2 separate regions of the Homo sapiens genome follow, and region 2 is linked to region 1. Evidence: promoter capture Hi-C in human tissues and cell types (Jung and others, 2019). All regions are on one chromosome and are shown on one strand. The core of a region is centred on a gene start or on the middle of the fragment in contact, and the rest is flanking DNA. Distances in the headings are between cores, read along the strand shown. Region 1 has its middle 6.7 kb from the start of EPO. Region 2 holds the start of AGFG2 (ArfGAP with FG repeats 2).

What was found. Contacts are between HindIII fragments. The study calls those that stand out against the background at their distance.
Region 2: the fragment with the promoter of AGFG2 here is called in contact with a fragment that was not itself captured in region 1 in 1 of the 25 tissues and cell types used here (spleen).

The regions. Positions count from the first base shown.
Region 1 is chr7:100,709,794-100,717,758 of GRCh38, forward strand. No RefSeq gene overlaps it. Among named protein-coding and RNA genes, the nearest start is that of EPO, 6.7 kb to the right of the region's middle. The HindIII fragment of the contact is 5,689 bases long and covers 2,287-7,965 here.
Region 2 is chr7:100,536,570-100,544,534 of GRCh38, forward strand. It overlaps AGFG2 (ArfGAP with FG repeats 2), which reads left to right and starts at 2,634. Exons shown (of 12, transcript NM_006076.5): 1 at 2,634-2,998. The coding sequence starts at 2,778. LOC124901708 (a long non-coding RNA gene) reads right to left here. Exons shown (of 2, transcript XR_007060453.1): 2 at 6,898-7,063. RefSeq lists an enhancer at 1,984-2,485 and silencers at 2,365-2,644, 2,695-2,994, 5,549-5,638. The HindIII fragment of the contact is 17,077 bases long and covers 1-7,387 here.

The DNA of each region.
Region 1 (7,965 bases), core at 3,881-6,380:
AGGAGGGGGAGGTTGCAGTGAGCTGAGATCACGCCAGTGCACTCCAGCCTGGGCGACAGAGCAAGACCTTGTCTAAAAAAAGAAAAGAAAAAGAAAAAAGAACCCAAGTTTTAAAAAAAGTGCAACTTAAATGGTGGTGTTTTTATTGCAGATGTTTTTGTTTTTTTTGAGGCAGAGTCTCTATCTCCTAGGCTGGAGTTCAGTAGCACAATCTTGGCTCACTGCAACCTCTGCCTCCCAGGTTCAAGCGATTCTCCTGTCTCAGCCTCCTGAGTAGCTGGAATTATAGGCGTGTGCCACCACGCCTGGCTAATTTTTGTATTTTTAGTAGAGATGGGGTTTCGCCATGTTGTCCAGGCTGATTTCAAACTCCTGACCTCAGGTGATCCACCCACCTCAGCCTCCCAAAATGCCGGGATTACAGGTGTGAGCCACTAGGCCTGGCCAGCAAATTTTTCAGTTAGGCATGTGTGTATATATATATATATATATATATGTACTATAATAGGATGTACATTGTGTTTTTTACCGTTTGAGGTCATAAGAGTTTAAGAGCCTCTGATTTACAGGTTAGGAACAGAATTTCACTCTAATTCAAGGAAGGTAGTTTGGTTTGGAGGTCTGAAGATCAGTCTTCTAATTCATCAAAATCCCTTCCTCTGGCATCTGCGTATGAAATGGTCCCTATGTTCAAGGAGCTCGCCATCTAATTGGGAAGGTGGACACATAATTTTTTGTGAATGAGTAAGATGTGTGAGACATAAGAGTAGCAATGATAAGGAAATGTGGAGATGGAAAGGGCTAATAACTTCCTGGTGGGACCCAAAATGGTTTCACTCACCTTTGATCTGGGTGTTGAAGGATGTATAGGAGTTTGCCAGGCAGAAAAGAAGGGAGATGGCATATTTGGCAGAGAGATCACAGTGGGGCGGGGAGATGGGTGGATTTGGCTGGGAATGGTGGCCATGCCTGTAATCCCAGCACTTTGGAAGGCCGAAGAGAGAAAATTGCTAGAGCTCAGGAGTTTGAGACCAGCCTGGGCAATAGAGTAAGACTTTGTCTCTATCAAAAATTTAAAAATTAACTGGGCTTGGCGGTGTGCACCTGTGGTCCAGCTACTCAGGAGGCTGAGGTGGGAGGATTGCTTGAGCCCAAGAGGTTGAGGCTGCAGTAAGCCGTGACTGAGGGCTTGTGAAACAGCAAGAACCTGTCTCAAAAAACAGTGGGCAGGGAGGGGATTAATGAATAGGCAGCTACGTTCTGGGACTGGAGGGACTCGAGGTGGCTAGAAAGCAAGAGGTACTGGGAGACAAGGCTGCAGACATTTCTTTTTTTTTTTTTTTTTTTTGAGACAGAGTCTCTATCGCCAGGCTGGAGTGCAGTGGCGTGATCTTCGCTCACTGCAACCTCCGACTCCCTGGTTCAAGCGATTCTCCTGCCTCAGCCTCCCAAGTAGCTGAGTAGCTGGGATTACAGGTGCGCACCACCACACCCAGCTAATTTTTGTATTTTTAGTAAAGACGGGGTTTCACCATGTTGGCCAGGATGGTCTCGATCTCCTGACCTCGTGATCTGCCCGCCTACGGCCTCCCAAAGTGCTGGGATAACAGGCGTGAGCCACCGTACCTGGCTGGCTGCGGACATTTCTATCAGGCCACATCCTTTCCATCAGCCTGACTGCAAGGCTTCCTTGCCCGGGAGCCCCCCAGTAGCCGAGCGGGGAGCCGGCAGGAAGCTGGATGGAGCTGTGTCTCCCTGCACGTATGTGCTCCGGGCCTGAGCCCAGCAGAGGTGGTGGCAGGCAGCCTTTCCCATCTGGTTTGTTTTGGCAGTTCCCTCCTGCAGCCTATTTGTTTGTTGTTTCTACTCCATGTTTTCTCACTGCTTGCCAGTGGGGCTTCCCTCAGTGGCAGTTCTGCAGAAACAGACCTCCACATTGCCACTGAAGGAAGAGTGGGGCCTGGGGCTCACTCTTTTGTGTGTGGGGGGGCGTGAACCAGGCTCCTGCATCTACTAGAGTCCATGCAGGGCAGGTGGGGCAGGGAACCCTGCCTGCAGGCCCGACCGTAGGGAGGCTAGCTCCAGCCTCTGTTCTCCTCCCTCTACTGGCTCTCCAAAGTGACTTCCATCAAAGCTTGGGAGGCCAGAAACAGTGAGCCACGTCTCTTTGTAATCCCAGCACTTTGGGAGGCCCAGGCAGGCAGATCACCTGAGGTTAGGAGTTCAAGACCAGCCTGGCCAACATGGTGAAACCCCGTCTCTACTGAAAATACAAAATTAGCTGGGCGTGGTGGCAGGCGCCTGTAATCCCAGCTACTCAGGAGGCTGAGGCAGGAGAACTGCTTGAACCCGGGAGGTGGAGGTTGCAGTGCACCAAGATTGTGCCATTGCACTCCAGCCTGGGTGACAGAGGGAGACTCAGTCTCAAAAAGAAAAAAGCTTGAAAAACGGGAGAGGGGTGAGGAGATGGAGGCAGAAGGTGTGTGCAAATGCAATGCCCTGCCCTCCTTTTTACATTTTATTTATTTATTTATTTATTTTAGAGACAGGGTCTCACTCTGTAGCCTAGGCTGGAGTGCAATGGTACAATCATAGCTCACTGCAACCTCAAACTTCTAGGCTCAAGCAATCCTGCCTCAGCCTCCCAGGTAGTTAGGACTACAGGCAAAAAAAAAAAAAAAAGAGCTACTATTGTTTTCTTTGTTTGTTTATCTGTTTGTTTTGAGACGGAGTTGTGCTCTTGTTGCCCAGGCTGGAATGCAATGGCGTGATCTCAGCTCACTGCAACCTCCGCCTCCTGGATTCAACTGATTCTCCTGCCTCAGCCTCCTGAGTAGCTGGGATTACAGGCACGTTCCACCAAGCCCGGCTACTTTTTGTATTTTTAGTAGAGGCAGGGTTTCTCCGTGTTTGCCAGGCTGGTCTCGAACTCGTGACCTCAGGTGATCCGCCTGCCTCAGCCTCCCAAAGTTCTGAGATTACAGGCGTGAGCCACTGCGCCCGGCCAAGAGCTAGTATTGTTTAGTATGAAGCCATTTTGCTAAGAAATGGTTTTAGGCTTCTTAATAGGAATGGGGAGAAGTGAAGGAAGGCAATTTTGTGTGCGTTTAATTCTCAAGTCTGAGTTATTAGTAGAAACTAACAACTGAGCCAGACTCAGTTGTGGCTCGCATAGCAGGGAAGGGGACGGGACCTTGAAATATTAAGTGGTTTGATCAGGCTGATGATCCTGCTAGAGAAGCCCAGCACTTTGTCCCAGGTGAGTTTCTGGTGCTTGGTCAGGAGTTGAGGGAAAAATGGTGTTTCACAAACCCTCAAACCACTAGAGAGGTTGGACGAGAACGTGTCAATTGTAGTTCCTTAGGAAACAGATGTCCAATTGCACAGAGATTTGGGATGAGGCAAAGGTCATCCTACCAGAAGGAAGCCTGTGAAAATGGCCACTTAAGGTCCCAAGACCCTAATGACATTATGGGTGTTTTTCAGTTTATGTGTTTGAGTTTAGCGCTGTTTTCTAATTTTGGTCACGTATTGTTTTTGTAATGAGCAAAAGTTCATCATAAAAGTTGCTTTTTTTTTTTTTTTGAGACAGAGTCTGGCTCTGTCGCCCAGGCTGGAGTCCAGTGGCACAATCTTGGCTCACCGCAACCTCCGCCTCTCGAGTTCAAGTGATTCTTCTGCCTCAGCCTCCTGAGTAGCTGGGACTATAGGTGTGCGCCACCATGCCCAGCTAATTTTTGTATTTTTAGCAGAGATGGGGTTTCACCATATTGGCCAGGCTGGTCTTGAACTCCTGACCTCGTGATCCGCCCGTCTCAGCCCCCAAAGTGCTGGGATTACAGGCGTGAGCCACCGTGCCCGGCCTAAGTGAGCTCTTCTGCTCGTGTCTTAGTTCATCAACCAGCAAATAATTTTTCCCTTTTCAGGGAAGTATATTTGTCTAATAGCAAACAAGACTAATAGACTGAGTTGGAAGGAATCTAGCAGGTCCTGTGAAGGCGAAAGTCCACCCTCTGTTTGCATTCTTCAAGTGACAAGACGGTTGCCTTTTCTTAAGGGAGCAGAGGCTTGTTATAGAGGAGACAGCAAGCCATTCTCCTCTGCATCATCCATGTATCCACTGACCCATTCATTCATCAGATATTTATTAGTTAGTGGAACGGGCAATAAAATAACTTCTTGAGGTATCTCATCAGTTTTATTTTTACTTATTTAGAGATGGGTCTTGCTCAGTTCCCCAGGCTCGAGTGCAGTGGCATGATCATAGCTCACTGCAACCTCGACCTCCTAGGTTCAAATGATCATCCTTCCTCAGCCTCCCAAGTAGCTGTGACACCAGGCATGTGCCGCCATGCCTGGCTAACTTCTTTATTTTTTATATAAAAAATATAACTCTATAAAAAATAACTTCTTTATTTTTTATAGAGCCAGGGTCTCACTGTGTTGCCCCGGCTGGTCTTGAACTCCTGGCCTCAAATGATCACCTTAGCTTTCCAAAGTGCTGAAATTATAGGTGTGAGCCACCTCACCCGGCCCCTCATCAGTTTGATAACTAACTCCTTGATCACCTTACTTAGAGAACAAAGGATCAGTCAGGAATAGGCTTCATAAAACTTTGGTAGGCCAGGTGCGGTAAAGGATTTTCCTTTGAGGACTTTGGCAAAGGATTTTCCTTTGGTTCTCCAGCAGGAATCCCTTCTTCAGCATCTTTTTTTTTTTTTAAGAAAGGGTGTTGTTCTTTCGCCCAGGCTGGAGTGCAGTGGTGCGATCATAGCTAACTGCAGCTTCCAACTCCTGGGCTCAAGCAATCCTCCAACCTCAGCCTCCCGAGTAGCTGGGACTACAGGCATGTGCCAGCATGCCTAACAAATTTTCTGTAGAGACAGGGTCTCCCTATGTTGCCCAGACTGGTCTCAAACTCCTGGGCTCAAGGGATCCTCCCTCCTTAGCCTCCTAAAGTGCTGGGATTCCAGGCGTGAGCTACCGTGCCTGGCCCTCCAGCATTCTTGCTTCCTTCACAGTTCCCCAAAGGCCACCCAACAAGGTCCCCAGCCACCTCCCCTCCCAGCACAGAAGGTCTTCTGGGCCTCTGGCTGAACTCGAGCTGAGCTGAGAAGCCACTGCTTGGAAATGAGGAGGGAAAGAGAAGCCAGGAGGCCCCCCTTCCCAAGTCCGACTCCAGGCAGCTGGGGCTCCGTGCTGCCTGGGGGTCTGGGACAGCTCGGGGGGCTGTAAATTTGCTTCTGCTTGGATTTCCAATCTGAATCCACTGCCAGGAGGAATCCGTGGAGCAGAGCCTGCCTCCACACCCGCCATCCTCCTGTCACAACTGGCCCTTTTCAAACCCTGCCTCAGTGGCTGCCTGCTCAGGAAGTGCATGGAAGCTTCACACGCCCCAGGATCCCAGGGAGCTGGGTTGACCGGGGGATGGCTCAGTGCCCCCTCTAGGTTGGGTTCTTCTCTGAGCATGTAGTGGAGGGACCACATAATGCAATCCACACTTGGGTGGTTACCACAGAAAAGGGACATGCTGGACGCTTGGTAGACAGAAAAATGCATCAGAACTTCCATACGCAGCCCTTCGCTCTCTTCGATGACTAGGGCACCTGCACTACGTGACTCCAGACGGTACCATTCCCTTCAGAGTCTCTATGGATGCCCCTGGGAGTTGGGCAGTGCTCATCTTTGACGGCTGTCCATGGCGGTCCTGCCAGTGAGATGCCTAAGACATGTACATAAATGACGGCAGTGCCAGGGAAGGAGACGATTTCCTGCTGGGAGATCAAGAAAGGCTTCATGGAGGAGGCGATGCACAGATTTGGGCTTTAAAGAAAACGAGGAGATGGTGTGGGAGGGTAATCCAGGATGAGCCAAGGGCAGGAAGGCACAAACCATCTCCTGTGGTGGAGGGAGTGGGAGTGAGCAAAGCGGGAGAACAGCCTGGAACATGAAGTGAATGGTAGACCTTGGAGGGTCTCAGTTCTGAGGCAATAGGAAGCCGTGACAGGTTCCTGCTCAGGGAATTAGCACAAATGAGGCTGTTCAGTGGGAAAGTTAATTGAGCAGCAGGGTTAGGGATTAACTGGAGGGGTCAATGAGGAGATGCTCTGCAGTGGTCCTGGGCCTGTGGGTCAGCATCTGCTAGAAGATGAAGAGCAGGCAGATGACGGGGGTGGGGGGCACTGGGCAGGGGGATGGTGGGCATTGGTCGGGGAGCCCCATGGAGCTTCTTGTTTTCTTCCTGTTCCTCAAGGACAGATGAATGGACCCTGCATTGCTCAGTATCCAAGAGGCTCTGGGCTCCAAACCAGCCTCTCCCCTCTTAGCAGAATTACTATGGCTTCAAGCCGGGTGTGGTGGCTCACGCCTGTAATCCCAGCACTTTGGGAGGCCGAGGCGGGCGGATCACTTGAGGTTGGGAGTTCGAGACCAGCCTGGCCAACATGGCGAAACCCCATCTCTACTGAAAATACAAAAATTACCGGGCGTGGTGGCACATGCCTGTAATTCCAGCTACTCGGGAGGCTGAGGCAGGAGAATTGCTTGAACCCGGGAGGTGGAGGTTGCAGTGAGCTGAGATAATGGCACCACTGCACTCCAGCCTGGGCAATAGAGTGAGACTCCATCTCAAAAAGAGAATTACTATGGCTTCGGATTGGGTATGGGGTGGACCAAGATCCTCTCCTCCCTCCCAAGCTGCAATCACAGCTCTCTCTCCAGAAGCCCCAGGGGACAAGGCAGTCACTACTCCTATCCAGCAGGCTACAGCATTTAGAGGCTGGTGCCCCTGGCCCATCTCTCACTCCTCTTCAACTGCAGACAAGGATGCAGGGACCCCCGAGAAGCTGTGTGAGGGGAGGGGCAGGTCCCACAGCCCAAAAGGCTCCTCCTCCTCCAGCTGTGTCCACCCCACCCATCTGTCTCCGGCCCCCTCTCCATGGTTAGGTCAGGGCATTGACGCAGGAGTCAGGGTCCTGGGAGAGCAGAGGCTGGGGAAGGGGAGCAGCCAAGACAGAACGCACGTGCGGCCATGTGTGGATGTGAGTGTGATGGTGCACGTCCCAGGACTCTGGAAGGGATCAGAACCAGGAGCCGAGTGGGGCTGGGGGAGCCTGGACAGCAGTTTTGGGAAGGCTCAAGGTGAGCAGAGGATGCAGGGGAGCAGGGTCTGAGGGAATTAGGCCAGCCAGAAGCATACCAGCCTCTGTCTCCTGACCCCCACCCAACCATCTTGCCAAACCACTCATTTTTTCTTTTTTTTTTTTGAGACAGGGTCTCCCTTTGTTGCCCAGTCTAGAGTGCAGTGGCGTGATCATAGCTCACTGCAGCCTCAACCTCCCGGGCTCAAGAGATCCTCTGACCTCAGCCTCCTGAGTAGCTGGGACTACAGATGTGCACCACCATGCCCAGCTAGCTAAACAAAAATAAAAATTATAGACATGGGATCTCACTATGTTGCCCAGGCTGGTCTCAAACTCCTGGCCTCAAGCAATCCTCCTGCCTCAGCCTCCCAAAATGTTGGGATTACAGGTGTGAGCCACTACACTTGGCCCAAATCCCCCTCCCATCAAGCTCTTCACCTCACCACACCCTCATGGTCCCTCACCCCCAACAGGTCTTTATTCAAGTCAGTTTCTCAGCCTAGTGTCTCTGACTACCTTATTTTAGATAACCCTGCCTGTGCCTTTTCTCCTTAGTTCTGGCTATTTGAAATCCTCTATCTTTTCTTTTCTTTTCTTTCTTTTTTTTTTTTTTTTTTGAGACAGGGTCTCATTCTGTTGCCCAGGGTGGAGTGCAGTAGCAAAACCACAGCTCACTGCAGCCTCAACTTCCTGGGCTGAAGTGATCCTCCCACCTCAGCCTCCCAAGTAGCTGGGACTATAGGCACATGCCATCATGCCCAGCTAATTTTTGTATTTTTTTGTAAAGATGGGGTTTCACCATGTTGCCCAGGCTGGTCAAGCC
Region 2 (7,965 bases), core at 1,384-3,883, 180 kb before region 1:
AATCCCAGCACTTTGAGAGGCCAAAGCGGGCAGATGACCTGAACTCAGGTGTTCGAGACCAGCCTGGCCAACATGCTAAAAATACAAAAAATTAGCTGGGCATGGTGGCATGCACCTGTAGTCCCAGCTACTCGGGAGGCTGAGGTGGGAGGAGCACTCAAGCCCCAGGAAGTGGAGGTTGCAGTGAGCCAAGATTGTGCCACTGCACTCCAGCCTGGGTGACAGAGTAAGACCCTGTCTCAAAAAGAAAAAAACAAGAGAGAGAGAGAGAAAGCAGGCTGCCAGCCACCAGCCTGGACAACATAGTGAGACCCCTTCTCTACAAAAAATCAAAAATTAGCCAGGCATGGTGGTGTGCGCCTGTAGTCTCAGCTACCCTGGAGACTGAGGTGGGAGGATCACTTGAACTGGGGAGGTTGAGGCTGCAGTGAGGTATGATTGTGCCACTGCCCTCCAACCTGGGCAGCAGAGCAAGACCTTGTCTCAAAAAAAAAAAAAAAAACAAAAAAAACAAAACAAAACAAAAAGAGGCCGGGTGCGGTGACTCACGTCTGTAATCCTAGCACTTTGGGAGGCCAAGGTGGGTGGATCATTTGAAGTCAGGACTTCAAGACCAGCCTGGCCAATATGGTGAAACCCCATCTCTACTAAAAATACAAAAATTAGCTGGACATGGTGGCACGCACCTGTAATCCCAACTACTTGGGAGGCTGAGGCAGGAGAATCGCTTGAACCTGGGAGATGGAGGCTGAGGTGGGCGGATCACTTGAGCCCAGGAGGTCCAGACCAGCCTGGGCAATATAGTGAGACCCAATCTCTACAAAAAATTTTTAAAAATTCGCCAGGCATGGTGGTGCACAGCTGTACTCCCAGCTACTTGGAAGGCTGAGGTGGAAGGATCACTTGAGTCCAGAAGGTTGAGGCTGCAGTGAGCCATGATTGTGTCACTGCACTCCAGCCTGGGTGATAAAGCGAGACCCTGTCTCAAAAAAAAAGTAATTGTTTTAAAAATGGTGACCAACCCAATCTGAAGTACCCAACAGGTGGCCAGGCATTGTGGCTCATGCTTGTAATCCCAGCACTTTGGGACGCCAAGGCGGGAGGCTCACTTGAGGCCATGAGTTTGAGACCAGCCTGGCCAACATGGTGAAATCCTGTCTCTACTAAAAATACAAAAATTGGCCGGGCGCGGTGGCTCACGCCTGTAATCCCAGCACTTTGGGAGGCCAAGACCGGCGGATCACGAGGTCAGAAGATCGAGACCATCCTTGCTAACACGGTGAAACCCCGTCTCCACTGAAAATACAAAAAAATTAGCCAGGCGTGGTGGCGGGTGCCTGTAGTCCCAGCTACTCGGGAGGCTGAGGCAGGAGAATGGCGTGAACCCAGAAGGCGAAGCTTGCAGTGAGCCGAGATCGTGCCACTGCACTCCAGCCTGGGCGACAGAGCGAGACTCCATCTCAAATAATAATAATCATAATAATAAAAATACAAAAATTATCTGGGGGTGGTGGTGGCCGCCTGTAATCCCAGCTACTCAGGAGACTGAGGCATGAGAATTGCTTAAACCCAGGAGGCAGAGGTTGCAGTGAGCTGACATCGTGCCACTGCACTCCAGTCTGGGCAACAGAGTGAGACTCCATCTCAAAAAATTAAAATTAAATTAAAAAATTAAAAAAGTACCCAAAAAGTCTTTTCCAAGATGTGATTTTAATTCTCTGCGTAGGATTTATTACTAACTGGTGATTCTTTAATTTGTGTATTGTTTGCTTCCCCCTACTAGAAACTAAGCTCTATAAGAATATTTTGTTTGATTGCTTCGCTGCTGTATTCTATTCCCAGTGTCTAGAACGTGCCTGAAACCTAGCAGACACTCAGTGTTTGTTAAATGAATAATCGAATAATAGTCCACCTACTAGGAGGGTTAAAGGCAGGGTTTCTAAAGTTGGAAGACCCAGAGTGGAATCCTGGGCCACGCACTCGTGTGATCTGCCGCAAGTTGTTGAACCTAAGGGTGTAAAATGGGGATTCCACCTCTGGGATAGGCGGAGCGAATGAAATGACATTTATAAAGCACTCCCTTCGCTCTGTGGCTCAGGAATTAGAGCACTGGTCTAGTAAAGCACTCTTGCTCCCTCTCCCTCTCTCCCTTAAGCGCTCTCTTCTTTCCCCCTCCTGCTCAGCCCCTCACATGGCCACTTCTCTTCGGCTTTGCATGACACTCTACACAGTCTAGAGTAAGCCTTTGAAATTTGCCGGGAATTAACGTCATCAGTCGGGAGGACGACAGCTACGCACGCGCGGGGCACCTCCTCTGTCTCGCGCGCTAACTTTGCAGCCCCGCCAGCCAATCAAAATTAGCGTCGGAGCCCGAGTGCCGAGGACTCACCAATCGGAACTAGGAGGCGGGCCACGGTGGAGGCAGCGGCGAGAGGGGGCGGGGACAAGGAGAGGGCACGCACGGTTCTCGCTGCTGGGGTCTCTGCCGGCCAATAGGAGAGGCCTGAGGCCTGAAGGCGGTGGGGCGGGGCATTGGCGGCTCCAGCAACCGGAGGCCGTCCCAGGGAGGGCCAATCGGAGTAAGGAGGTGGGAGAAACCTAGCCAATCAGTGTGCAGGACGGGCAAGGAGGGTGGTGGACGGCGAAGTCTCCTGCGGATGCCGCCCGCTCCCGAGCTTCTGTCAGGGGAGCCGGGCGTGCGGAGGCGGCTGAGGAGGCGGGAAGGCGGCAGTGGTTGAAGGGGTGATTGCTGACTAGCGGGGAGGGAGTGGGCAGCGATGGTGATGGCGGCGAAGAAGGGCCCGGGCCCGGGCGGCGGGGTCAGCGGGGGCAAGGCGGAGGCGGAGGCGGCCTCGGAGGTGTGGTGCCGTCGGGTGCGGGAGCTGGGTGGCTGCAGCCAGGCCGGGAACCGCCACTGCTTCGAGTGCGCCCAGCGCGGGGTCACCTACGTGGATATCACCGTGGGCAGCTTCGTGTGCACCACCTGCTCCGGCCTCCTGTGAGTGACCGGGAGGGAGTGGCCGAGGTCGGCGTGGGGGGACCCGGGGGCGGGGTGGGGAGGCCGGGGCTCCGGGGCGCGAGGGAAGGGGGCCGAGGTGAGGGGCGGAGGGGAGGTCAGGGAACGCGCCGGCTGTGGGGACGGGGTCGTCTGCTGCAGCGGTGTGGTGGGGAGGGGAAAGGGCAGGGGAGAGGAAGCAAGGCCGGAGTCGCTCTGCGGAGAGAAGGGTACGGGTGCAGAAAGACGCCCGGAGAGGGACCGAGAAACTCCCCGAGGGGGTCGAGGCAAACTGCAAGTGGGGAGGGAGAAAGTGCGGAGGATGGAAGGGAACTCGGAGTGGGATGGGGTGTCGGGACTTAAAGGGCCAGAAAATGACATGCACCTTTAGAGGGAACTTCATGCAGGTGGAAAGCAAAAAGGAAAAAGGTGGGGAAAGCCGGCCTGGAGATGGACGGGCACCTTTCTTCCTTCGGGCTTGTGTCCCTGCTGGAGTGTGAGATGCAGAAGCCAGCTGAAACTTGGTTGAAATTCCTATGATTAGAGTACAGGATTAAAAAAAAAAAAAAAAGCGAATTAACCCCGATTGACAGCCTAGAGATAGTGGCTGGAAGGGAGCCATGGTCCAGAGTTCAGGTGTAGATACTAATCTTAGCAGGGCTTTGAAATGTTACCCAGAAGGTAAAACTCTTACGAAATCTAAGAGATGAGAGCCAATGGGTTACCCTGGTAGAGAGCTTAGCTTTTTCAAACGTTTGCACGTCTAGGTGAGCCATCCTGAAGGTTAATCATTTACACCTTTAAGATCCCTGTTGCCATGACTGGATCCTGGTGGTAGCATCCAGGAAACTCTAGATTTTGGGGGGGCTTTGGTGCATCATCTGAGTGCTACTCTTGGCATTGGTACTGTTCGGTCATGCCAGAGTGAATTTACAGCCACAATTCTAGCCTAGATTTCTGGTTATATAGTAAAGCCCCCTCCACTCCCCTCTGCACTCCTCCTACTCCCAAATTAAGATATTATTTGGTTAGATGCATGATTAACATCTGATATCAGGCCTGGATCTCTGTTTTTTAATAAGTTTGTCAAGGGATTTATTTTGACAATTTTTTAGTCTTATTTTAAGACACTGTTGTTTTTGTTTTGTTTTTTAAAAAATGCTTTCCAGCCAGGCGCTGTGGCTCACGCCTGTAATCCTAGCACTTTGGGAGGCCGAGGCAGGCAGATCATGAGGTCAAGAGATCGAGACCATCCTGGCCAACATGGTGAAACCCCATCTCTACTAAAAATACAAAAATTACCTGGGTGTGGTGGCGCGCACCTGTACTCCCAGCTACTTGGGAGGCTGAGGCAGGAGAATCACTTGAACCCGGGAGGTGGAGGTTGCAGTGAGCTGAGATTGCGCCACTGCACTTCAGCCTGGCGACAGAGCAAGACACTGTCTCAAAAAAAAAAAAAAAAAAAAAAGCTTTCCCTGTCTTGATACCTTTAGGAGCCAGGGAGCGAGCACTATTGTTCTTGCAAGACAGATGGGAGAACAGAAGCAAAGAGAGGTTTCGTAACTTATCCAGTGCCATATGGGCATTGCGGTTTCCAACATTTGTTGTTTGATATTAGTGATGATCATGGCAGACCAGCAATGAGGATTTAGTTTTCTCAAGATACCGTTTGGAATTATTTACTTCGTTTTAACCTCCTTTGCTAAACTTCTCTCTGGGTTCTGATCAACCTCACTTGTGGGTTGTAAGGATGAACTTGACTTTGGTCTAAGTAAAAGTCATCGTGGCTCTTGGGATAATGATTGAGAACCCAAACAGTAATGTGTCATAAACTGAGATGGACTGAAATGAAGCAAGAGGATAGAGACTCGAGAGTGGGTGAAGAACTCTGGGGAGAGATTGAGCAACGTTTAGGAGTATGTATAGGGGTCGGGCTCGGTGGCTCAGTATGTATAGGAGGCCAAGGTGAGCAGATCACTTGAGGTCAGGAGTTTCGAGACCAGCCTGGCCAACATGGCGAAATCTCATCTCTTACTAAAAATACAAAAATTAGCCAGGCATGGTGGCAGGTGCCTGTAATCCCAGCTACTTAGGAGGCTGAGGCAAGAGAATTGCTTGAACCCAAGAGGTGGAGGTTGCAATGAGCCGAGATCGCACCACTGCACTCTCCAGTCTGGGTCGCAGAGCGAGACTCTGTCTCACAAAAAAAAAAAAAAAAGGAGTATGTATAGGGTAAAGTAGAAAGAGAAAGAGCTGATTCCTGAAGATCCTGCTATGAGAAGCAGAAGGATGAAACTGATGGATAAAATTGAGTAACTGGGAAGTGCTGACATTGTTATCATTATTTTGTAGATCTTTGTTAAAGTGTCCCACAGATAACATTTCCCTTATAATACCCCTCAATCAGGACACAAAGAAAGCTAAGGTATCTGGGACACGTTAAAAACCTGGTTTCTTTTTTCTTTTTTTGAGATGGAGTCTCACTCTGTTGCTTAGGCTGGAGTGCAATGGCGCGATCTCGGCTCATTGCAACCCCTGCCTCCTGGGTTTAAGCAATTCTCTTGCCTCAGCCTCCTGAGTAGCTGAGACTACAGGCACGCGCTACCACATCTGGCTAATGTTTGTATTTTTAGTAGAGACGGGGTTTTGCCATGTTGGTCAGGCTGGTCTCGAACTCCTGATCTCAAGTGATCCGCCCGCCTCGCCTCCCAAAGTGCTGGGATTACAGGCGTGAGCCACGGCACCCAGCCTGCTTAGCTTTTTGGTAAAGCATTATGAGACTAAACCAGGGAGTGATTCTCACAGAGGAGGATTTAGAGAGCATATTTTGGTGTTTGGGAAATGAGAAGCTAGACCAACCCTTTGTTAGTAGGAAATGAGAGTGAAATGAAAGATCAAGAGGTTAGGCCAGTAAATGAAGCTGAATTGAAGGTATGTTGAGAGTGAGAAATTTCAGGAGAAACTCTGCAAGAAAGCTGGAGTTTCCCTATAATTAGCATGACAAGGGCAAGGCATATAATCCTTGTAAAGGGGTCTTAACACAGTATTACCTGTGTCCCTTTGATATGCTGTGGGAAGGAGTGGGAGCTGGCAGGTGGGCTGTAAGGCAGAATGTGAGGCAGGGGATGCTTATTTCTGGAGGCATGGCTCCATGGTGGCACGGAGACCAATTAGCATCTTAAATCCCCATGATTGATTACCTGTAGATTAGGGTTTGGTGTTGGTGGGAAGTGAAAATTGTGGTCGGCTGACAGCCTGCATGTTTATTCATTCGGTCAGTCAACACGAACTTATTCAGTGCCTATCAAGCGCCAGACACTGTTTTAGGTACTGGAGATACAGTAGTGATAAGTTCCCATTTTCACGGAGCTGACATCCTAGTGGAAGCCATGGACTATAAAGAAATCGTTCTGTATTGCTAAAAGCTATGAAGTAAAATGAAGCTCTGTGGGTTAGAGTGATACCAAACTGAGGTATGATGCAAAGAGAAGAAATATTATTATTAATTTTTTTTTTTGAGATGGAGTCTCGCTCTGTCGCCCAGGCTGGAGTGCAGTGGTCCGATCTTGGCTCACTGCAACCTCCACCTCCTGGTTTCAAGCGATTCTCCTGCCTCAGCCTCCCCAGGTAGCTGGGATTACATGTGCACACCACCACGCCCAGCTAATTTTTGTATTTTTAGTAGAGACGGGGTTTCACCATGTTGGCCAGGCTGGTCTCAAACTCCTGACCTCAGGTGATCCACCTGCCTTGGCCTCCCAAAGTGCTGGGATTACAGGCGTGAGCCACTGTGCCTGGCCTCGAGAAGAAATATTCTTTGTTAAAATGAAGAGGATATTGAGGGAAGAAATTGAAATACCACATTAGCACCGTAGCCACAGAAAGGAGACAGCAGGATGACATTATTTTAAAGGCCAGTTTTCTGTTCAGTGGGTTACAAATATGTCTCCTTCATAAGGGGATAGAGTCGTCTGGGGGCAGTGAGCAAAATTACTAGAATTCCCAGCTGGTTGGATTGGCCGATGTAGCAAAGTTGATGGTTCCAGCCAAAGTTGAATTTCCTAAGATCTGAAGAAAAACACACATTTTAATATTGGTGGGTGGGTATGACTCTGCCTGCATCCCTGCATGTATGAACTCATTCTTGTTCTCTCTTTTTTAATGAGAAATATTTTCTCAGCTGTAGCAAAAACCTACAGCGTTGGTGTGAGGGGTTGAGAGAAAGGCTGCTAGTTTCTGCTGTTCCTAAATTTACATACATACTGCCACAATTGTAGGTCCCACACCTGACCTAGTTTTATTCATTTGGTTTTCTTCCAGTACCTAATTTCCTTAACCTAGATGTGGATCTGTTTAATTTCCCCAACATACACATATGCTTGTTTGTTTAGTTACATTTCTAATTCTTGGAGGATGAATCTGTCATTTGAATCTTAAGACGTGGTAAAAATTGCTGCTAAAAAGCATCTATTTGCAAAGCAGTGCTTTAAATGTTCTTTCTTGTTCTGGTTTGCCTGAATGCGTCTGTGAATGAACCACTGTTCCTCAGAAAGAAAATGGATGTTGAGGCCTGAGATCTCATTGACACAAGGATGGACGCTAACTTTGACACCCAGTTTTTTCAGCAAAGTATGACATATTTCCTTGATGTGGCTGTTTGGGTCCATCTTCAATCCATCGTTCTTCAGGTGTTTGTAATAGACACTTATCTCTTCTATTTCTGCCCAACTTTACTGTGATCACAGGAGTCAGAATTAAGGTGGGCAGAGCTCTGGGCTGGGTGTCAAGAATGCACTTGACAGCTCTTTATTTGTGACAAGTTCCTGCCCTCCTTGTGCCTTACTTTCCCTGTCGGGCTTGCTGGTGGTTCTTAGTTGAAGCATTTTAATCTCCATGGGAGGAAAGGTACAGTATGTTCTTCAATAATTCAGTACTTTTCCATCTGTCTGGGTTGGAGAGGTACACATGTA